Linked DNA regions of Homo sapiens: region 2 is linked to region 1. The links are contacts of gene promoters, found by promoter capture Hi-C in human tissues and cell types (Jung and others, 2019). All regions are on one chromosome and are shown on one strand. The core of a region is centred on a gene start or on the middle of the fragment in contact, and the rest is flanking DNA. Distances in the headings are between cores, read along the strand shown. Region 1 holds the start of ELOVL7 (ELOVL fatty acid elongase 7). Region 2 overlaps PDE4D (phosphodiesterase 4D).

What was found. Contacts are between HindIII fragments. The study calls those that stand out against the background at their distance.
Region 2: a fragment that was not itself captured here is called in contact with the fragment with the promoter of ELOVL7 in region 1 in 1 of the 25 tissues and cell types used here (dorsolateral prefrontal cortex).

What each region holds. Positions count from the first base shown.
Region 1 is chr5:60,841,548-60,846,884 of GRCh38, forward strand. ELOVL7 (ELOVL fatty acid elongase 7) reads right to left here and starts at 2,722. Exons shown (of 9, transcript NM_024930.3): 1 at 2,613-2,722. RefSeq lists silencers at 2,394-2,453, 2,464-2,623, 2,644-2,943. The HindIII fragment of the contact is 13,401 bases long and covers 1-4,817 here.
Region 2 is chr5:59,590,105-59,595,533 of GRCh38, forward strand. The region is part of intron 1 of PDE4D (phosphodiesterase 4D); the gene reads right to left. Among named protein-coding and RNA genes, the nearest start is that of MIR582, 110 kb to the right of the region's middle. The HindIII fragment of the contact is 3,046 bases long and covers 945-3,990 here.

The DNA of each region.
Region 1 (5,337 bases), core at 1,472-3,971:
ATGCCTCTTGGGAGCAGTCCAGGCCCACTTCACCTTATACAGGTTTTTGTGAAAAGATTCCTATTTGGCCTGACTGTAGCCTATCTATGGCCAGAATAACACTGTCGTTCTATTGCTGAATACATCTACTGTGTTAATCTGTCCATTTATGTTTTATGCACTTTTATGTATGTGCTACGTTTTTCAATAAAAAGGTTTTTTTTTAACTTTATGTGTTTTCATATTTTGTTTTGTCAAGATAAGGATAAATGGTTTTCTGCTGATTTGCTTCATTATACCTCTAAATGTAATGTTTCATCAGAACAGCTGGGTACCTGTTTGTGACAATGGAGTGAACACAGGCTTTTCTCCCCTTCATGTACAATGTCTACCAGCTCCTACACGTTTACCAATGCAAACTCCGTAACTTCCTGTAAAACCTGGCTTAAAAATTTCCATCATCAAACCTGCCTGATGTGTGCTACCAAAATTTATACTGTATCATCTTCTACATTTATCAAGCAACTACTAGCTGTAAGGCCTGAAGATTTAATGTCCTAAGCTGTTTGCAATCTTTTTGTGCAAAGCAAACATAAAAGATGATAACAAATAGCAGAGAAGGGCATATGTGTTCAAAGTGGGGAAGAGGGAGAGTGGTGAAGAGAGGATGGGAGTGGGCGAGACTGATAAAGGCTAGAAGACACCATGTAAAAATTGGATAGAAGATATTTAACGAATGGGAGAGGAATGGCACGGCACCTTGGAGACCAGGATAATGGCAGGACCCTTAATGGAAATGAGCATCTGGAGCTGTTTTGGGGAAAAGCCGGGCAAGTCCAAGCGGAATATTATAATGTGCACTGACAGACGTTACACTAAAACTGAAGAAGACATGGAAAGCACAGAATCTTAAGCCAGATAAATACAGGTGATAGATGAAGTAACAAAGTCCCAAAAATCTATTTTTCTTAAAAAAAAAAAAAGCGGGGGCAGGGGGAGGGTGTGGGGATCCTAAACTAGTATAAAGACACATAAGAAGGAAAAGAGGGACCTGAGATTGACAGCCTGGTCAACGATGCCTGAAACAGCACGGGACTTCAGAAAATAAGGACGAGCAAACGAACTCTAGGTGAGGCAGTGTAGGACAGTGGTTAACAGCTCCAGTGCTGGAGACAGAACCCCAGAGCTGGAATCTCCTACCGCTGAGATGGGTGTGGCCTTGGGCAAGTTACTTAACCTCTCCGTGCCTCAGTTACCTCATCATTAAAATGAGAATAATATTAATATCTACTTCCCAGGATCGTTGTGAAGATTAAAAGCTTTTACACAAGAACTGACATCAGTGCCTGGCACCTAAGCACTGATAAATGTCTGCCACGGGGTGAGGGGTGGATTTTATTTAGTTCTCGGTGACCTTGGGGAGACCAATTTCTGATCAGTAGTACGAAGAGAAACTACAAAGAAAGGGAATGAATAAGCGGGTGCGTGGTAAGAACGCAGAGGCAGCCACCAGGTATCGATGACCCTTTCGGAGCACGTAAGCAATAAAAGTGAGGAATGAAATAAAGGGTAATCCGAGAGCACAGGGTTAAGTGAACATGCTTTCCGAGGGGAGATCGTAGCAAGAGGGAAAAGACCACTGGCGAGGAACTCGGGTCGCTAAAACTGTTCTTCAGTCGACGCGGGACTAACTACACTGGGAGCAGGACAGGTGTAAAGACCCGCTCCTTCCCGTCCCGAGTTCCCCAGGGAGCTCCAAAGAGCGCTCTGTCCGCACCGGGTGAAGTTTGAAACAGCTCTGACTTGAAGGGGGAAAGCCCATTTCCCAACGAACCTGGGAAAGCCCATTTCCCAACGAACCTGGGAAAGCCCATTTCCCAAAGAACCAACGATACCTGGGACGACAAAACAACAGGCTTTCCTGTTTCCATCTCCGGCACGACCTGTTCCACGGCTCTGTATTCATCAGCCTCCTCCCGGCCAGCAGCAGCCACCAAGACAGGATGCGGCTCGGGGAGCCGAAGGGACAGCGCCCCAAGTTCATCTGGCCGCGGGAGCAAAAAAAGCGCCCAAAGGGGAAGGAAGGAAACAGAAAGAAAGGGGCTCCGGAATTTGGGGGGGTGGCTAGCGAGGCCAGACCCCGGAGCTGGGAAAATGACCTCCGCGTCCAAGGTCGAGCAGGTCCTTCTCCCTCCCAGTCCCGCCGGCGAGCACCTCTGCCCCTCCCGCTCCGCTCCGCAGGGCCAGCGCCGCGCGGGACCCCAGTCCAGGCTCCGCTCCGCAGCGCGCCCACCGGGCCCGACCTTCCCTTCGGGATGCTGCCGGGTGGGGGCTCCCGAGAAGGCGCAGGTGAGCGCCGCGGCCCCGCGCTCCGGCGAAAAGGGCCTCGGTCCTCCCCACGCGCAGGCAGCGGGGACAGAACTTCCCAAGCGCCTCCCGAGCCCAGGGAGGGCCTGGCCCCGCTCCCGGGGCCCCCGCACCCGGGTCCCACTTCTCGCGCGCCGCGCCCAAGTTCCTCCATCCGGCCACTCCCGACGCCGTTCCCCTCGGCTCTGCCTCCCTCCCCAGTCTCTTCTCCTCCGCGCGCCGGGAAAGTTTGGCCCCTGCCCGCCGGCCTGGAACCCCGCACTCACCGCACAGGGAGCGGAGCCGAAGCGCCGGGCGCGCGCGGGAGAGAGGGCGGCGACTGGCAGCGCGAGCGCGGAGCTCCTCACAGCGGCCCCCGCTGTCCCGGCCGCCGACTGGGTTGGAAAGGGGAGGAGGCCGCCGGGTGTCACCTGCCCGCTATCCCACCCAGCCGCGTGACGCGCGCAGCGCCGCCCCCTGCCCGCCGCCGCCAGGTGCCCGCCGAGGGCCGGAGGGAGGAGCCGGGGCGGCGCGAGGGGGAGCGGCCGGGAGGGCGGAGGCCGCCCCGGCCTCGCCTCCGCCGCGCGCCCTGACTCTCGGGACTGGGGCCCACCGGCCGCTCTGGGTTAGCGGGGCTGGTCGTGGCACCGATGACCTTTCTTTCCGAGAGCAGATGCCATCACTTGGGGGACATCTCCAGGCTGACATAGCAGAGTGGAAATTGTCGTCATGCGTGACTCATTTGGGAATGAGCAGTAGAAAAATCCGAAATGAGGAAAACCTAGCTGAGGCTGGAGGCGGAGAAAAAGGGGACTCCTTGCTTCTGAAAGGGTATTGGGAGGGTTAATTCGCATCTGAAATGGAAGCCAGACCAAGAGGAGAAGGCCCTGGGAGGGGAAGGCCGACTTGGTTCAGCTCCATCCCCTGCTTATAAGGAATAAGAAACTAGAGAATTGAGGCAGCCTGGGGGGCATGGGGAGAGGACTTTTAGAGCAATGAAGATTAGATTGTATATCATCTAACTTTGTTTCTGGTAACAGCAACTGCTGCAGGAAAAAAAGTCTAGAAAATTCATTTCTCGTTACCTACTGTTGGATTGGAAAGTGGGGGTGGGGATGAGCGTTCGGAGTGTGCACCTGCGCTTGGTTTATTTATTTTTTAAACGTACCTGGCCTTGTGTCTGGTAATGATCCTCCTAATCGCTGGTATGATTTGGATCATCAATAGCTGAAAGGCAAAATAGGGGCCTAGAGAAGTTCCCTGCTTCTGAGGCAAAACCAAAGGCTGGTGTTGAACTGTCCAGAAACCTAAAAAACAATAATCATTTTTAGTTGCAGTCCTGACCCAACCACCTCACAAATGTGGGCTTTGAGTTTGTATTGCGAGTTCTCAGCATGGAATCAAGAAACACAAAAAGGGGCTGGGAGCGTCAGGACCACCAGAGAGGATGGGTAGGGAGAAAAAAAAAATTGGGGTGTCGGAAGCATATTTTCCTCACATGTAGGGATTGCCTTCGGCAGCTTAATCCCACTACATTAAACAAGAGGTTTTAATGTTTTTATGTAAAACTTCGAAAGTGTCCATTGAAAGAAAAGCAAAAAAAAAAAAAAAAAAAAAAAAAAAAGCTTAAATTGCAAAGAATCTCGAAGTCAAAAAAACTAAAGATTTCTCCTTTCTTTTAGATAACTTTGCTTTCATATTAAAAACAGATCATTTAGTAGACTTAGGAAGTCTTTTGGGAACGGGAGACAATTGCCTAATGATACTAGCCTTTGAGTCTATCACAATTTACCATTTATATATACTTATGAAATTTCAAATATGCAGAAGCTCAAATGGATTCATTTATTTAACAAATACTGGAGTGCTGCTATGTTCCAGGCCCTGAAGTTTCAATAGATAACAAATTCCCCGTTCTCAGGGACTATACGTTCATTCTAGTTGGAGATGACAGACAATACATGAATAAAGAAGTAAAAAAAATGTAGTGTTCAGCCAGGCGCAGTGGCTCACGCTTGTAATCCCAGCACTTTGGGAGGCCGAGGCGGGCAGATCGTGAGGTCAGGAGTTCGAGACCAGACTGTGCAATACAGTGAAACGCCGTCTCTACTAAAAATACAAAAATTAGCCGAGTGTGGTGGTGCGTGCCTGTAGTCCCAACGACTTGGGAGGCTGAGGCAGGAGAGTCGCTTGAACCTGGGAGACAGAGGTTGCAGTGAGCAGAGATCTCGCCACTGCACTCCTCCAGCCTGGGCGACAGAGCTAGACTCTGTCTCAAAAAAAAAAAAGAGGAAAAAAAAGAAAAAAAATGTGATGTTCAGGGTTTGATAAGTGCTATGAAGAAAAATAAAGAAGGGAAGGGGATGGAGACTTTTGGAGGTGGGGAGTTGTGTTAAATGTTAAAGTGGTTAGGGAAGGCCCCAGTGGAAGCAGGCATTTCAGCCCAGATTTTGAACAGGTAAGGTGACACACCTGTGTGCCTATCCAGTAACAGCATTCCACTCAAAGGGAATGGCAAGGCTAAAAGCTCTGGGGGTGTGGTGTGGGATATTCCATTCATAGACCAGCAAAGGGGAGATGTCAGATGAATTTCAGTGAGTGAGGACAGTAAGAAATGAGGTCAAAGAGTTAAGGAAGCATTTTGAGTAAAAAACTGTCATACTTTGACATTTTCAAGAGTATTTTGGCAACTTTTTTGAGAATAGGGCATGGGGTATGGAGGCAGAGAAGAAGGACAGAAGTAAGACGATGATCAGGAGGCTCTTGGGAAATCCAGATGAGAGATAAAGGTGGCTTTGACCAAGTTGGTAGTAGTGAAAGAAGATTTAAAAAAATACATTCTGAAGGTAATATTAACAGGATTTCCTGAGAATTTGATATGGGCTATGAGAGAGAGAAAAAAGAGGTCAAGGATGACTCCAGGGTGTTTGCCTTGGGTAACTCGAAGAAAAAAAATGCCATTTACTGAAAGAAAAAAAAACTGTGAAAGAAAAATGTAGGGAGAAGGGCAGG
Region 2 (5,429 bases), core at 1,218-3,717, 1.3 Mb before region 1:
ATAGGCTTGCTTAGAAAATAGAAATAACTCATTTCCAGCATTTTATTCCATTTATATTAGAAAGAGGGTCTTAAGAGTTATGTCTACTAATTTATAGGCTGATACTTTACAAATTTAATACTTCCTACATGTATGGCCTTCAAGAAACAACAGTTAGGCAGAACTAATAGGTTTGTAATCTAAAAACAAGTTGTCAAAAATGAAAAAATGTTGTTGGGTTAGGGTAATGCTAATCTATTTTGTTACACTAAAAGATAATCATCCTTTCATGAAACTTTTAAGAAATATCAGGAAGCCAGTTCTGGTTGCTCATGCCTGTAGTCCTAGCTACTTGGAAGGCTGATGCAGGAGGATAACTTGAGCCCATTTCAAGACCAGGCTGGGAAACATAGACTCTGTCTCTAAAAAAATTAAAAAGAAATATCAGGAGTAACCATAAAAGATTATCTTTATGGCTAATCTCAGCCCCATTATTTTTATCAATACAGGAGTGCGAATTATTAGCAGGGCACCACAAATTGGCATAACCTCAGTGAAGTCCCTGCAGCTATGGCATAACCTCAGCTCTACTAGAGCAAAGACTGGTTTGTTGTTTTGTTTTGTGTTTTTTTTTAAATTTTAATCCCACAGCAAGCACAAGAGTAAGTGAACTTATATTAACTACCCTTAAATGAGGCTGATTCAATAAAAAGCTCAATTAATTGATAAACTACAAACTCAGAGCAAACCAAAATACTTTCAACATTTTCATTGAAAGATCGCTTAATGCATCCAGAATCAGAGCCAGAAGTATTAACTAGCCGGTGTCCCACGTCCTTTTCCAATAAAACCCTTTTCTCTCATGGTTATAGGGTTATGCTCATAAGAGTGAAGGTTTTCAAACTAAGTTTCTGGGAACCCTATGGTTTTTCAAAGTTGCATCAGGTCAGCTGAGGGGCAAGGTACTTTGTGCTGGGTCTAGGAAGCCAGGTACTTTGTGCTGTTTCAACAAGAGCTCTTCTGCTTTAACTAGTTTTATCTCAAAGTTTGATAATACATACAAAAAAAGTCTGGCTCTTTAAAAAAAATTACAAAAATGTAACAGTAGAAATACAGAATTAATACTTTCTACACAAATTCTTATCTCTGTAATATCAGTTTCAGTATTTCATCCTCTTAAAATGCCTTCAACTTACACACTTCCTTCACAATGAGCATAAAAGAATGATTAAGTTCAACCTTTATGCTAGTATAAGCATAGTATAATAAAGTCACACCCTAGTTCCTGAGGTTGGGTATTTCCTAGACTCTTTAGTCACTTGTACTTATCAGAGGGTGTGATGAGTTACTTCATTGATTTTCCCTGAGTTTCACTTTCAGAAAGTAACTTTAATGTCAAATGTTAAGGTATATTTTTTTGTCATCATTGCATTTTGGTATAATCAATAGCTAATGTCAATGTTTGCCTCTTAAATAACTTGATGAAATAAAACTCCTGTATATTTAGACATCAAAGAATAAAGACCTAAAAGATGACTTATTTATCTTATATGAATACCAATAATCAGTTCAGATATTTTTGGAAAGTCTCCATTCTTTCAAGAGGCTGGATTACTTTTGTCCCTTAGATGTCAAAAACAAAACACTTGGTCCCTGTATTCTACATATTGGGTTCATATAAATATATTTACACATACAAAAACTTCTATGTACTTTTCTTAGCACATTCTATATACTATTAATAACAGTATAAATACATTATACACAAGGATATAGAAGCTACTGTCACCTGGATATCTTGCAGGATGTGACTTTTTGCCTCAAGCTCCCCCCATAAATATATATTTTTTACCAATAAAAAATAAAATTTACATGAGTTTTCACATGTGTGTATGTATGTGTAATTATACATTTTTTTCTTTTTATTGCATATATCATCAACTAATAAAGAGGTGAGTGTGCCATCAGAATGAGACCTGAGGTGGCTGTGCTTCCAACCCCACCTCCCAGCAAGAAAAGAACATTCAAGACCAAATTCTCTATCTCACCTTTACAGAAAGCCAATCCCCCAGGAACAGAACAGTGTCTTCTTCTCTATATTTATAACACCAAAAACATTGTTGGTACTCAGTCAATGTTAACTAATAACGATGTTGATAGTCATGACTTTCCACTCCTGGCAAGTTCTAGCAAAGTCTGAAGGCATGCTGTTCTGAACATTTATAACTGAAATACGAGAAGCCTTTCATGAAGCCGCAGTTTCAGTTGCTGAGAGTCAGGGAAATGCATCATGTTTCAGCAAGTTGCTAGTAGCTACTACATTCAATTTCTACATATTCTCATAACCCAGGGTACAATCACCAATTAGAAAAGAAAAAATAAATTCATTAAACACCTAGTTTCATCACCTAAAACCAGCAAATGCTTTGTTGGGACTTTTCATGATTCAACTAATATAAAAAGCCATTTTGGATCATACTCCTCAAGGTTAAATCTTCTAATCTTAAATGATAAATTCTTTTACAGAAGAAAAATCTCATAATATGAAATATATTTCATAATTGGAATATTTAGAATGCTTGTTAAATTTTACTTTTAATTTTTTTTTTGGAAGTAGAAGACTTAAAAGCCTAATACTGAAATACAAAGAAGGCACTTAATATTTATACTTAAGAATCAAAAGTGGAAAAATGTTCACAGCAAGTTTAAAGACAAAAAAGTCAAATGTGTATACCATCTTGGAGTCCTAAGATGTGAACCCTTATTTTCAGGTTCTGCCTTTTACTTTTTGTGTAATTTTGACCAACGCATGAAACCTCTGTGAGACACAATTTCCTTATCCGTAGCATGGAAGTAATACAAACACTTAGATTATTATAATTTTAACTTATTATAATTTAAAATTTTTTAATAAGAAGAGCTCTTTAAATGTTGTTTGCATATACCTTTAAAATTTGCTTAGTAAAATATAATAAAATACAGATCATTTGTTTTGCAATTTACTGGAATCAAAATGGAAAAAAAAGAAAAAATACAAATAATGTAATGTCAAAACTACCTTCTGAAATGGAATTACATTTCATTTATATCTTAAGCTTTTCTAAAGGCTTTGTATAATATTTGTTTAGAAAATTCAAAGGAGCAAAAATATTTCTCATGTAATAAAATAAAGCCCAACTTCAAAACTTACTCATATTATCAGCTGGGCATGGTGGTTCGCACCTGTAATGGCTCTCAAAAAAAAAAAAAAAAGAGAAATGTTGTAAGAATGCACACTTATTCTTTCATTTATCCTGATTAGATGTATCCAAAATAGATTTGCTTTCACTGGAAATTTAATTGATTGTTACTGATTGATAATTTAATTAAACTTCTGATGACAGTTCTTCTATCACTCAACCTCCCAGTAAAAAAGTAACATAATCCAGCTTTCAGTTCCTCACATAAGGAGCTTGGAAGTTGCCAATCTGTCCTAACAACAAAAAAGCTGAACAAACTGAAAAATCAACTCTTCTTAGATCCATAAGAGAAGTGAGGTCACAGGGCAAACTGCTGCCCAAACCACTGGTGAGATAGACAGTAGGCTATGGAGAATCACAACATACCGGAGCAGAAACCTCCAAGAGAACCAGTGCTGGGGTAGAAAAACCTCAACTATAATTGACAAATCGTTAGAGGCTGAGTGCAGGCAAGTCTGAAAGTTGAAAAACTCCAGAGGAACCCAGTAATAGGGAGGTCCCCACAATTCTGTGTGTTTTACCTCCAGGAGTGCTACCAAGTTCTCACAGTAAATATTGGAGAAAAATTCTCTCATGCTTCCAGCAAGAGAAGGGAAAAAGTACACATCTTTAAATCTGCTGAAGCTTGGTTCTTCCTGAGGAGAAACTAGTTAATCAGAGCCTAACCTGCTGGGGTTTTTTGTTCCATTTTGTTTTGTTATATTAGAGCCTCACTGACCTGGGGAAAGAAAAATGCCCAACTCCAGCCCACTCTAGCCTACCATCAAGGAGAAAGGAAATACTCAATTCCAGCCCACGTTAGCCATTCTCTCTCACCTATGGTATAAGAAAAAAAAAACCTGAAAAACACTTAGGAGATTCACAATCCAGAGGCCCAGGCTCACCAAAAGTCTGAAACCTAATTATGGAATGATAGAAAGCTTCCCCTCCACTGCCCCTTACCACACCACCACCCACATAACTTTTTTATTTTATTTATTTATTTATTTATTTATTTATTTATTTATTTATTTATTTGGCAGAGTTTCGTTCTTGTAGCTCAGGCTGGAATGCAGTGGCACAATCTTGGCTCACTGCAACTTCCGCCTCCCGGGTTCAAGCAATTCTCCTGCCTCAGCCTCCCCAGTAGCTAGGATTAGAGGTATGTGTCACCATGACTGGCTAATTTTCGTGTTTTCAGTAGAGATGAGGTTTTACCACATTGGCCATGCTGGTCTCAACCTCCTGACCTCAGGTGATCCACCTGCTTCCACCTCCCAAAGTGCTGGGATTACCAGGCATGAGCCACCATGCCTGGCCCACCCATATAACTTAAGGCCTATTTACAGGAGTTCCTTTTATCCAGTACATGCCCAGCTATGAAGAAAAAATTACAATGCATAGTTAAAGGCAAAGAACACAGTTTAAAGAGACAGAAGAGGCATCAGAACTAGACATGCCAGAGATGTTGGAATTATCCGTATGATACAAAAATGGAAGATATACATCAATATAAATTTGTGCAAACCCATAGAATATACAATACTAAGAGTAAATTCTAATGTAAGCTATATGTTTTAGAGATAATGATGTATCAATGTAGGTTCAATTGTAAAAAAAAATGTACCACTTTTGTGGGGGGGATATTGATAATGGGGTGGCTATGCATGTGTGGGGGTTGGAGTAAATGGAATATCTCTGGACCTTTCTGTGAATTTTGCTGTGAACCTAAAAATGCTTTAAAAAATAAAGTTTTTACAAAGTTACATGACAAGCATTAACATTTTATACCCAGAATATGTACAATTTTTATACAATTTCAAATTTATGGATGCTAAAATTGCTATTTGTAATGTCAATAGATTCCATTTTCTTTACAATTGCTTGAAGCAAAGATGTAATTTTATCAAGAATGTTTAACACATATTTTGACAATCTATTTATAAAATCTGAAACTTATCACATAGTTTCATTTTAACTAGATTCAATATCATTTAAAGTTTCTTTTTAAAGAGGAAACATTATTTCATTTAGGAAACCATGCAAGTTCAACATGGGAAATACAAAAATAAAATAAAATAAACACACAAGAAAGAAGCAAGTCATCCATAATTCCATTCCCAAAAGACAAGTCAGTATACTTCTTTCCAGTCTTCCTCCCCTCCAGGAATAGTGGGTTTACCACCGATTTTTATGTTGTTGTAAGAATATTTCACCGACCTCTGAATTTGG